3 separate regions of the Homo sapiens genome follow, and regions 1 and 3 are each linked to region 2. The links are contacts of gene promoters, found by promoter capture Hi-C in human tissues and cell types (Jung and others, 2019). All regions are on one chromosome and are shown on one strand. The core of a region is centred on a gene start or on the middle of the fragment in contact, and the rest is flanking DNA. Distances in the headings are between cores, read along the strand shown.

The links. The method cuts DNA at HindIII sites, captures the fragments that hold promoters and counts their contacts. A contact is called where the count stands out against the background at its distance.
Region 1: the fragment with the promoter of DECR2 here is called in contact with the fragment with the promoter of LUC7L in region 2 in 1 of the 25 tissues and cell types used here (dorsolateral prefrontal cortex).
Region 3: a fragment that was not itself captured here is called in contact with the fragment with the promoter of LUC7L in region 2 in 1 of the 25 tissues and cell types used here (spleen).

The regions. Positions count from the first base shown.
Region 1 is chr16:400,215-403,987 of GRCh38, forward strand. DECR2 (2,4-dienoyl-CoA reductase 2) reads left to right here and starts at 1,671. Exons shown (of 9, transcript NM_020664.4): 1 at 1,671-1,829. The coding sequence starts at 1,750. NME4 (NME/NM23 nucleoside diphosphate kinase 4) reads left to right here. Exons shown (of 5, transcript NM_005009.3): 5 at 5-540. The coding sequence ends at 128. RefSeq lists enhancers at 494-803, 651-1,236. The HindIII fragment of the contact is 11,138 bases long and covers 438-3,773 here.
Region 2 is chr16:227,192-230,772 of GRCh38, forward strand. LUC7L (LUC7 like) reads right to left here and starts at 2,258. Exons shown (of 10, transcript NM_201412.3): 1 at 2,088-2,258; 2 at 51-145. The coding sequence starts at 2,148. RefSeq lists a silencer at 1,872-2,101 and an enhancer at 1,934-2,630. The HindIII fragment of the contact is 19,974 bases long and covers 1-3,581 here.
Region 3 is chr16:71,270-74,855 of GRCh38, forward strand. It overlaps RHBDF1 (rhomboid 5 homolog 1), which reads right to left and starts at 1,362. Exons shown (of 18, transcript NM_022450.5): 1 at 1,244-1,362. It overlaps LOC124903617 (a long non-coding RNA gene), which reads left to right and starts at 1,558. Exons shown (of 2, transcript XR_007064932.1): 1 at 1,558-1,667; 2 at 3,111-3,586. RefSeq lists silencers at 932-1,115, 1,362-1,421 and enhancers at 1,576-2,393, 2,394-3,210, 3,211-3,586. The HindIII fragment of the contact is 4,515 bases long and covers 1-3,586 here.

The DNA.
Region 1 (3,773 bases), core at 421-2,920, 170 kb after region 2:
ACAGGAATGTCATCCACGCCAGCGACTCCGTGGAGGGGGCCCAGCGGGAGATCCAGCTGTGGTTCCAGAGCAGTGAGCTGGTGAGCTGGGCAGACGGGGGCCAGCACAGCAGCATCCACCCAGCCTGAGGCTCAAGCTGCCCTTACCACCCCATCCCCCACGCAGGACCAACTACCTCCGTCAGCAAGAACCCAAGCCCACATCCAAACCTGCCTGTCCCAAACCACTTACTTCCCTGTTCACCTCTGCCCCACCCCAGCCCAGAGGAGTTTGAGCCACCAACTTCAGTGCCTTTCTGTACCCCAAGCCAGCACAAGATTGGACCAATCCTTTTTGCACCAAAGTGCCGGACAACCTTTGTGGTGGGGGGGGGTCTTCACATTATCATAACCTCTCCTCTAAAGGGGAGGCATTAAAATTCACTGTGCCCAGCACATGGGTGGTACACTAATTATGACTTCCCCCAGCTCTGAGGTAGAAATGACGCCTTTATGCAAGTTGTAAGGAGTTGAACAGTAAAGAGGAAGTTTTGCACACCCAGTTCCATAACGTTGTTGGATGTATGAGCCAGGCAGGGGTCCAGAGACCACCAGCCTGCAATCCGGAGAACCCAAGCTAGGCGCGAGCCGGTGCTGTGATCCCGCCAAAGGAGAAGCTGCCTTCCCGGGGAAGGGGCAGAGAGGGGCCGGCGGGCTGAGGCCAACCAGCGCAGAAAGGGCCTGGCAGCCATTACTGTAGCGCTGGCGGCTCTGTCACGCCCCTGAAGCCGCTGGCCCGCGGGTGTGTTCAGCTCAGGAGCGGCCCTGCGTGTTTTTCCCCCGTGGCCGTCGCGGACCCCCGTCTTCCAACAGTGGTGCGGGCGGGGCGCCCCGTCCTGGGTTCGCGGCATAGCCCCGCCCGGGCCCCCACGCGGAACAGAAGTAACGGACCCTTTTTTTTTTGTTTTTGTTTTTGAAACGGAGTGTCGCTCTGTCGCCCAGGATAGAGTGCAGTGGCGCGATCTCGGCTCACTGCAACCTCCGCCTCCCGGGTTCAAGCGATTCTCCTGCCTCAGCCTCCCGAGTAGATGGAACTACAGGCACCCGCCACAATGCCCGGCTAATTTTTGTATTTTTAGTAAAGAGGGGGTTTCGCCATGTTGTCCAGGATGGTCTCGAACTCCTGACCTCGTGATCCGCCCGCCTCGGCCTCCCAAAGTGTTGGGATTACAGGCGTGAGCCACCGCGCCCGGCCCCGGACCCTTCTTTATTGGCCTCAAAACGGGTCATTTTGGGAAGCGGCGCGGGGCTGGCCGCGCTTCCCTGGGCCCCGGCCCTCCCCATGGTGTTTACGGGGAGGCGAACGGGGAGCCCAGAGGCTGCGAGCCTGGCCTGGACCCAGGAGCCAGGGGTATCCCACAAGTCCTGGAGGCTCTGAACGCGGCGCTGACGCCGAATACCTGTGAAAAAGACTCGGGGAGGAGACCCGCAGACCGCCGAGCTTCTGCCGCGGGAACCGCGCCCCCGGCCCCGCAATGCGCCTGCGCCTCGCGCGCCGACTTCCAGTCCCAGCAGGCCGCGGGCGGGGGCGGGGCCTCCGGGGAGAATTCGGGGGAGGGGCGGGGCCTCCGGGAAGCAATCAGGGCAGGGGCGGGGCGTCCGGGGAGTGGGGCGGGGCTCCCGGTTCCAGGCGAGTTCGCAGCTGCGCGCCGGGTCCTGGAGGCCGAGGCCGCTCCCGCCCGTTGTCCCCGCAGTCCCCGACGGGAGCGCCATGGCCCAGCCGCCGCCCGACGTGGAGGGGGACGACTGTCTCCCCGCGTACCGCCACCTCTTCTGCCCGGACCTGCTGCGGTGAGCGGGGCCTGGGAAGCGAGCGCAGCCTTGGTGCGGGGTCCGGTCCGCGGGCGCCGGCGCCCCCACGTGGTCCCCGAGGGCTCGCGTGTTAGGAAACCTGTCTTGCCTGGCTCCTTTCTTTCTTTTTTCTTTCTTTTTTTTTTTTTGAGACGGAATCTCGCTGTGTCGCCCAGGCTGGAGTGCAGTGGCACGATCTCCGCTCACTGCAAACTCTGCCTCCCGGGTTCAAGCGATTCTCCTGCCTCAGCCCGGCTAATTTTTATTTTTAGTAGAGAGGGGGTGTCACCGTGTTGGTCAGGCTCTTTTCGAACTCCTGACCTCAGGTGATCCACCCGCCTCGGCTTCCCAAAGTGCTGGGATTTACAGGCGTGAGCCACCGCGCCCGGCCCAACCTGGCCTCTTTCTTAACAGAAAATTTTAGGTTGAAATCATTTTTCCGGAAGACCCAGAAGGCCCAGGAATGCCAGGTTTTGCCCAGCAGCTCTTCATTTTCCTGCAAACGCCTTGGTGTTCACAAGAGAAGGCAGCCCGGGCAAAGGTCGATCCTCCCCGGTCACCTGCCCTCACTCGGCTAATGGGCGGATCCTTTTTTTTTTTTCCTTTTCTTTTTTTCAATTGGCAACATTTTCAAGTTTCTATTAAAATTTTGATCTTTTGCCAGGAGCAGTGGCTCACGCCTGTAATCCCAGCTCTTTGGGAGGCCGAAGCGGGTAGATCACCAGAGGTCAGGAGTTCGAGACCAGCCTGGCCAACATGGTGAAACCCCGTCTCTGCTAAAAATACAAAAAATTAGCCGGGTGTGGTGGCGCACACCTGTAATCCCAACTACTTGGGAGGCTGAGGCAGGAGAATCACTTGAACTCGGGAGGTGGAGGTTGCAGTGAGCCGAGATCGCACCATTGCACTGGGCAACAAGAGTGAAACTCCATCTCAAAAAAAGAAAACAAGTTTTAAATTATGTTCTCCAAGGACAGGTATTGACAATTCTCTCTGAGTGTTCTGCAGGAAAAAAAAAAAGTTTTTTTTCGAAACGGAGTCTCATTCTGGGTTGAAGCAATTCTCCTGCCTCAGCCTCCCAATTCTCCTGCTTCAGCCTCAGTGCGCCCAAGTGGGACTATAGGCACACAATACCACGCTGGGCTAATTGTATTTCTAGTAGAGGTGAGTGTCACCATGTTGGTCAGGCTGGTCTGGAACTCCTGACCTCAGATGATCCACCTGCCTCGGCCTCCCAAAGTGCTGGGATGACAGGAGTGAGACGCTGCACCTGGCCCAAAATTAATCTTTAATAATTAAGAATAGGAAAGGCAACTTGGAGATCAGCAAAAGTTTGCCATCCATCTGGTACAGTTTGTGCCAGTCATACCGATCAGTACACATTTAATGCGTACAAGAAAATCTCTAATAAATAAAAAAGCCATATTATCCCGACGTAGCTTGCTGAATCTCAGGTATCATATTTGATATTAGTGCCATGCAGGGCTTAGGAGAGAGGAAATTATAACCTCTATCTTGTTTAAGCCAGGGTATTTTTCTCTCTTGTATCTACTTCTGTCCATTTCTGTCAAAAGACACAGAAATACCCTTTCCCCCACTGCACTTTGCAAGTTTGTGTCAGCACAAGTTCAGGACCAGCCTGAGCAACAAAACGATACCCCTCTCTAGAAAAACTAGATGAAAAATTAGCTGGGCACTCTGGCATGCACCTGTAGTCCCAGCTACTGGGGAGGCTGAAGCAGGAGGATCCTTCTAGCCCAAGAGGTCAAGGCGGCAGTGAGCCGTGATGGTGCCACTGCACTCCAACCTGGATGACGTAGCAAGAACCTGTCTCAAAATAAATAAATAGGCCCGGTGTGGTGGCTCATGCCTGTAATCCCAGCACTTTGGGAGGCCGAGGTGGGTGGATCACAAGGTCAGGAGATCGAGACCATCCTGGCTAAC
Region 2 (3,581 bases), core at 1,008-3,507:
TACAGCACTCATGTCAGAGTGTTCCATGAGGTCCCCCAAAATGCACCTACCGTCCCAGCCAGGATGTCATGGGGGCAGCAGTCCAGAAGGTGACTCTTGCAGACACGGTCATCTGTAAACTTGACCCTCTGTCTGGTTTCGTCTCCTGAAATTCATTTGTGGTTTTAAATAAGACAATATTATCACATTAACCACCAAAAAATAACTAGTATAACAATTCACCTGGATGATTTGCAGACTATCATTTCTGTGTTCTCCCCATCAAATGCAATGAAAAGCTGATCTAAAGATATTTACAACTGGAGTGGAATACACATTTTTTTGAGGCTAGTTATATCATGGAGAATCACACTTAATGAGATCTGACTCCATCACTGTACCAAAGAAGTCAAGGAGTCAGACGTAAACAGCTGAGCACCAAAAGGCCATTGGCTCCACATATACATGTGGCAATGAGACTGCAAAACCCAAGCTAATCAGAGGTCCATGAACCACCAAGGGTGACTTATAGAGCTGGTAATTTCCACCAACAAAAGCTACTTATTAATCTAATCTTTTTGTTATGAACAAATGCAGAGGCAGTATTTTGCCCAAAATTGAATGAAGAAGAAAGCTTTCAAACTCTATCGAAGACTGTTAAATAATCTAGATCTATTCTTCCTACGTCCCTTTCGTTCCCACCCTTAAAAAAGAGAGTTGCTACCTGGGAGTCACTTTTAACAAGACAATACCAAAAAAAGCAAAAAAGGAACTAGGTTAGTCAATACACACTGTGAGCTCCAACACATACTGTACCCATCTGCATTCTTCAAGACCTCAGCTGCAGAATTTTATGCCCGCTGTTGAAAAGTGTTAAAGGAAAAGTTTTCTTGCCCACACCTGCAGTAAGGAAGTCGGGGGAATGATACATAAAAGTAAAGGTAAAGTGGTATGTGACAAATTTTAAAGCTAGTCTGTGTATACAACACAGAGCTGTGCAACGCTAGAGGAGGAATATATTTTAGGATTTGCAAGCATCCAGGATTAATGTAGTGTCTTTTTATTGAAAATGTTTTCTTTCTAAACTACACTTTTAAAGTTACTTGTGAAAAAAAGCAAACACTTTTTTGTTATAACAGCTTAGAAATTGGTTGTGACTCACGGCTCGATGAACATGAGGCTTTCTGCAACTCCCTTGCAGATTGATGTAGGCAGGCAAAGATACACTGAACCTTTATAAATAAAATAGAGGGGCCACAATTGTTCAGTTTGTATGAAATAAAAATATGGGAAGCAATTCAAAAGCAACTCAATATACAAAGAAAGCTAAAAAGCACTTATTCACCTATGAAATAAAGTGCAAATAATCTGCACAGCCCTGAGAATGTGCCAGTGTGAACTTACAACTTCATTACTCAGCAGAAAAGAAAACACAAACCACAGCAGGTATATAGTTTTGCAAAGATGCAACCGCTTTCTCCTGTGACAACCATCATGATCTTGAGCTCCTCCCTACACAGTACAACCTACCTAACGACTGTCAAGCGCTGGCTACACAGAGGCTCTCCTGTGTGCTGGGGGGAAGGGGGCAGCTGGAAAAGTACTTGGCAGAAACCCACGTTAGAAAAGCTCAGTTTACGGTTCCCCTTGCAATGGTACAGAACCAGAGCGGGCCAGGTTTTCGAGGCCCATCCGGCTCCCTCGGGTGTAGCTTCTTCCCAAGGAGCCTCGGAAGAGTTCTGCCACCCGGCTGCCAGCGACCTGGAGCCCACGCTGATTCCAGCCCTCCGCCGACTCCACAGTTCGCGGAGGGGCACGGAGCCGCGGCGCCCGCCGGGGAGGAAGTAGCAGGACGGTACATAGGAAGGAGGCTGAAGCCCCATCCATGGCGCAGACTCCGAGAGAGGAGCCCGACCTGGACCCACGGCCGCCTCAGAGACGCACCGGCTTAGACAAAGGCCCGGCGCCTGCGGTCGGAGCGCGGGGGAGGAGGAGCGATGCCCCGCGCAGGCGCAGGCGCAGACGATCGCGGCCCCCGCCTCAGGCCGCCCGGCGGCCTCGCCTCACTCCCACCCCAGACCCTCGCCTGGTTGGCCGCTCTGACTCACCGTCCCGAGCCGTGCCCATGAGCTGGTCCAGCAGGGCCCGCATCTGCGCCTGGGCGGACATGGTAGCCGGCGGAGGCGACGGGGTCGGCCGCGACGACTTCTCTCAGGCAGGCGGTGGCAGCGGCGTCGACAAACGATGGTCGCGTCGGCCTCGAGCCCACTCGGCTCTTTCCCGCCGCGGGGGACGCCGGGAGGAAGTACGACGGCGCCGGCGCACGCCCTGCTGGGAAATGTAGTTTCTGGGGTGGGTGCTTAGGGAGGCTGAGGCTCTGAGTGGTCGCAAGTTGTCCAACGGCGGAACCAAAATCCCAACCCTGATTTTACTCTAGACCCCCAGGACCTCAAACGAGTCTCTACGGAGGGTAAACTACAATAAAATGAAATACAGTCAATCAAAAACAAGATGAATCCGTGCTTTTTCTAAGCTAGCCATGAAACCGTGAGCATATTATTTAGCTCCCCGACGCTCGTTTTTTTAAATCTGTGAAATGAGGGTTCTAAAGGTGCCCCTCATATGATTTTTGTGAAAGTTAAATAAAGCATGGAATTTTATTTATTTATTTATTTATTTATTTAGAGCGAGGGTCTTGCTCCGTCGCCCAGGCTGGAATGCAGTGGCGCGATTACCGCTCACTGCAGCCTCGACCTCCCCGGCTCCTTATCCTCCCGCCTCAGCCCGGCAAAGTATTGGGATTACTGGTGTGAACCACCACGTTTGGCCATCAGTCATGGCATTAATATTAGGTTCTATGATTACAACCTCGTGGTCGTCCTTTTGTGAGCTCATGGTCTACTGTCCCAGGGACTAAAGAAAAGGCATATGTAAGCAGTTATTTTATGTGATAATAGAATTATAGCATGCACTTATGTGTGCATAGTCTGGCATATACTTCTATTATATTAAACCTCTATTATTTATTTATTTATTTTTGAGACGGAGTTTCGCCCAGGCTAGAGTGCAATGGCGCGATCTTGGCTCTCCGCAACCTCCGCCTCCTGGGTTCAAGCGATTCTCCTGCCTCAACCTCCCAAAGTGCTGGGATTACAGGCATGAGCCACCACGCCCGGTCTTTATTTTTTATTTGTTTATTTTTTTTTTGAGACGGAGTCTTGCTCTGTCACCCAGGCTGGAATGCTGTGGCGCGATCTCGGCTCACTGTAAGCTCCGCCTCCCGGGTTGAAGCGATTCTCCTGCCTCAGTCTCCCCAGTAGCTGGAATTTCAGGCGCCCGCCACCCCCTCCGGCTAATTTTTGAATGTTAAGTAGAGACGGGGTTTCACCATGCTGGCCAGGCTGGTCTCAAAGTCTTGACCTCAAGTAGCCAGCCACCATGCCCAGCTGATTTTTGTATTTTCGGTAGACACGGTGTTGTACCGTATTGGCCAGGCTGGTCTTGAACTTCTGACCTTGTGATCTGCCTGCCTCGGCCTCCCAAAGTGCTGAGATTACAGGCGTGAGCCACCGCGCCCTGCCGTATTTTATTTATTTTTGAGA
Region 3 (3,586 bases), core at 116-2,615, 160 kb before region 2:
CCCCTTCAATCTGGCACCACCAGACTCCCATGCACTCCATTTGCCCCTGCCCCATTCTCAGGAAAAGGGGCCCGGCTTGCCCAGAATGACCCCTGGTGGCAGGGGGCTCCGCCTCAGGGACCCCTTGAGCCCCAGCCAGCTGCTTGGTCCCCAGCTTCTGCCCACCCTTGGGGTCGGGGCTAGGAGGTTGGGGTTAGCTCCACAGGGGTGAGGAGAACCGAGCCTGGGACTGCCCAGGCATCTAGCTGGGTCAAACCTGAAAAGCCAGTTTCATCCTTGAATCTTCTCCCGGTCTCCAACAGGAAGTCCCGTTGGCGGGTGGGAGTTCCCAGGATAGGAGAAGGGCCTCCAGACCTAGGCCCCACCCACCGGGACAGACACACACATTCACCATCTCAAGCGGCACACACAGAAGAAACTCTGGTCAGGACCACCTCGGTCGGAAGCAGGCCCTGGGGGGCCAGGGAAGATCCCCTGCCCATTCCCCGCCCAGCCCCACAAACATGCCCCCAGCATGACAGACAACCAGGCCCTCTGCCAATGCCCTGAGCATCTGGGGTCTGGCTGTCACCCCAGCCGGGAGAAGGCCTGTCCCCGTTGGCCTCTGCGCACAGAGTGAGAGTCTGTCTTCGGGAGTCGCTCCCAGCCCACCCTGGAGCTTCGAAGTGTACAGATGGGGGAGTCAGTGTCGTGGGGCAGAAGGCGGAGTCAGTCCCCCACCCCCAGCTCCACGGCTCCTGCTATTCCCATCGGTGAGGGCAGCCGGGACAGGGACCATCCCGCCCTGGGCTGGAGTTTCAGCTCGGAGACACCACCCGCCGGTCGTGGCCGGGAAGGAAAATGCAGCGGGGGGAGTTCAGAGGAACCTGGGGCACCCCCGGACTCTAGACTCCCGCTCCTGGGACCCTCAGCTGTTGGGCGGGGGCTGGAGCCGAGCTGTCCCGCCCGGCCAGGCCGCTGGGGCTGCTAATCCGGCCACGGGCTATTTTTGCGGCGCGCCGGGCTAGGAATCCGGGGCTGGGCCGCCTCCGCGGGCGACTCGGGAAACTCCAGGAAGAAAAGCCCGGCCGCCCCGGGGGGGCCTCGCCGCGACCCCTCCCCGGCCCCGGCCCCGGCCCCGACACGGCCCCGGCCGCTCTGAGCAGCTCCGGCCCCGGGTGCTGAGGACTCGCCCCGCCCTCCGGACGCAGCCCCGGAACCCGCCCGCCCCCGGAGCCCTGCGCTCCCGGCCGCGCTCACTCACTGCCGCCGCCGGGGGCTCTGGGGGGTCCTGAGGGCGCCGGGGAGGAGGCTGCCGCCGCTGGCCGGGAGGGCCCGCGCCGAGTCCCCGCCCGCCCGCCGGTCCGGCCCGCCCGGGAATGCCCTGGAGCGAGGGGCGTGCGCCCGGGGGCGGGCCCGGCCGGAGCGGGGCGGTCGCGCTGACTCAGAGCTCAGGAATGCGCGCCGCCCGCCTGCCCGGCCCAAGTCACCTCCTCCCGGAAGGCCGCCGGGCTCCCTTCTCCCCAGGGTCCGCCTGCGGGGACACCTGGGGCTGGGGTCTCCAGCGCCTCGGCCCGACGGAGGACCTGGTGGGAGCGGACCGCAGTGTCAGCGCTGGGCGGCTCCGCCTCTCCCTGGCTCCAGATTGAGGCTTGAGCTGTCCTGCCCTGATTTGTGCTGAGAAGAGGGTGAGGAGGGAGAGCAGGCACGGGGTAAAGGGCGGAGGATGGGTGTGTATCCCTGGCTCCCCTAAACCCGACCTCCTCCAGAGGCCCACGCTGACAAGTCCTGTATCCCACACTCACCCAATCCCACTAAGCACTCACATTCCCTCACACACATTCATGTGCACCGATCACTCACAATCATACACACACGTCCCCACATCCTTCCACTTCATGCGTTCATTCGCCTGCACATGCACGTGCTCACATGCACCCACCTACTCATGTACATCTTTCATGGGTACATACACGTGCACACACACACGTGTACACACCGATGCACACACTCAGTTCAGGACCACAGTCATTACCCCTCCCCCTGCCCTGTGCCCCTACCCCCAGAAGCCCCGCTCCACCAGCAGGCACTCAGGCCAGGCTGCACCGGCCCCACCCGAAGCCACTCAGCAGAGGCAGCGCAGTGTCTGGTGTCCACTCTGGGCTCTTCTCACTGTCTCAGAGCTCAGCGGCCACCCCGGGGTGGGCTCATATCCCTGCACAATCTGGGCTGGACTCAAAATGGCACTCTGCTTTCCGCTGGGGCTGCTGGTGAGAGTTTCCCAGCATTTCTCTCCTGACACTGGGTGGGCTGACCCTCCCAGGGTGGGGGACAGGGGTGCCAACAGCAGAGTACGGGCAGGGCTGTCCAGGAGCTCTGAGTGGTGGGTGGCCAAGGCTTCCTCTGGATAGAGGGTGCAGGGATCCCTTCGTCCCATGGGTCCCTAAGGACCCCTCTACAGGGTGCCCCCCCATGCCTCGGACAAATGTGTCTTCAGGCCCTGTGCTGGTCACAAGGTGCTGCTGCTTCAGTGCCATCCTCTGGGTCTGGGTGGCACCAGCCCTCTCCAAACTGAGCTGTTGCACTTGAGGGCCCGACGCAGACAATGGCCTGCTCCTTGGCTAGACAGAAAAGGGGAGAATTTGAACTAAAGGTGCTGGTACACTTACCGGTAGATCCCAGAGCCTGGGCAAGATTCCCCTGCCCATATCCTTGTCCATGCCACGGGATAGGGCGGTGCCTGCACATAATGGGTGCTCTCTGAACACAAGCAATATCAACACAATTCTCATGTAGAAGGAGACAATGGAAGCTTTGGAGGGGGTGGAGGGTAACTCCACCAGGGGATGACTGCCAGTGCATCACGGACACCGGGTGAGAGGGAGCCTGCCCCAGTGCCAACACTCAGTGCTCCGATAGCCTGCACGTGCCACCCCTCCCATGCCAGGCTCACAGCCAGAGACAGGACAGTCTCCATGCTTAGCATTATTGACCTGCCAGGGATAAGCAAGCCCTATCGGGCCTGGATGCCCAGACTAGGCTGGCAGGGCCAGAAGTGGTGTCCTCTCTGGAAAGCTGGGGACTGGGCTTGCCTCCAAAGCATGCCACAGCTGGGCATCTGGTGTCAGCAGGTCTCCTCCTGCAGTGGACTCTGTCAGACCCCACCTAGACCCGCTCCAAGACCCAGACACTCATCGCCAGCTGCCAGGAGCACCAGTCACAGCTGGCTCAGAGCTGAAACCCCCCGCACCCAGGAGTCACCTTCAGTGGGGAGCATGCCCCAGTCTGCCTCTGCAGGCAAATCCCCAGCTCAGAGCCTGTGTCCAGGAATCCCCAGGCTCTCAGCCCACCCTGGCCTCCTGAGTGAGGTCATCAGAAGGATGATCAGAGGGGGGTCGATACACGTGTGCTCAGTGTCAGGCCTCTGAGCCCAAGCCTGCACGTATACATCCAGATGAAGCAAGTGAAGAATCACAAAAGAAGTGAAAATGGCCGGTTCCTGCCTTAACTGATGACATTACCTTGTGAAATTCCTTCTCCTGGCTCAGAAGCTCCCCCACTGAGGCACCTTGTGACCCCCACTCCTCCCCGCCACAGAACAACCCCC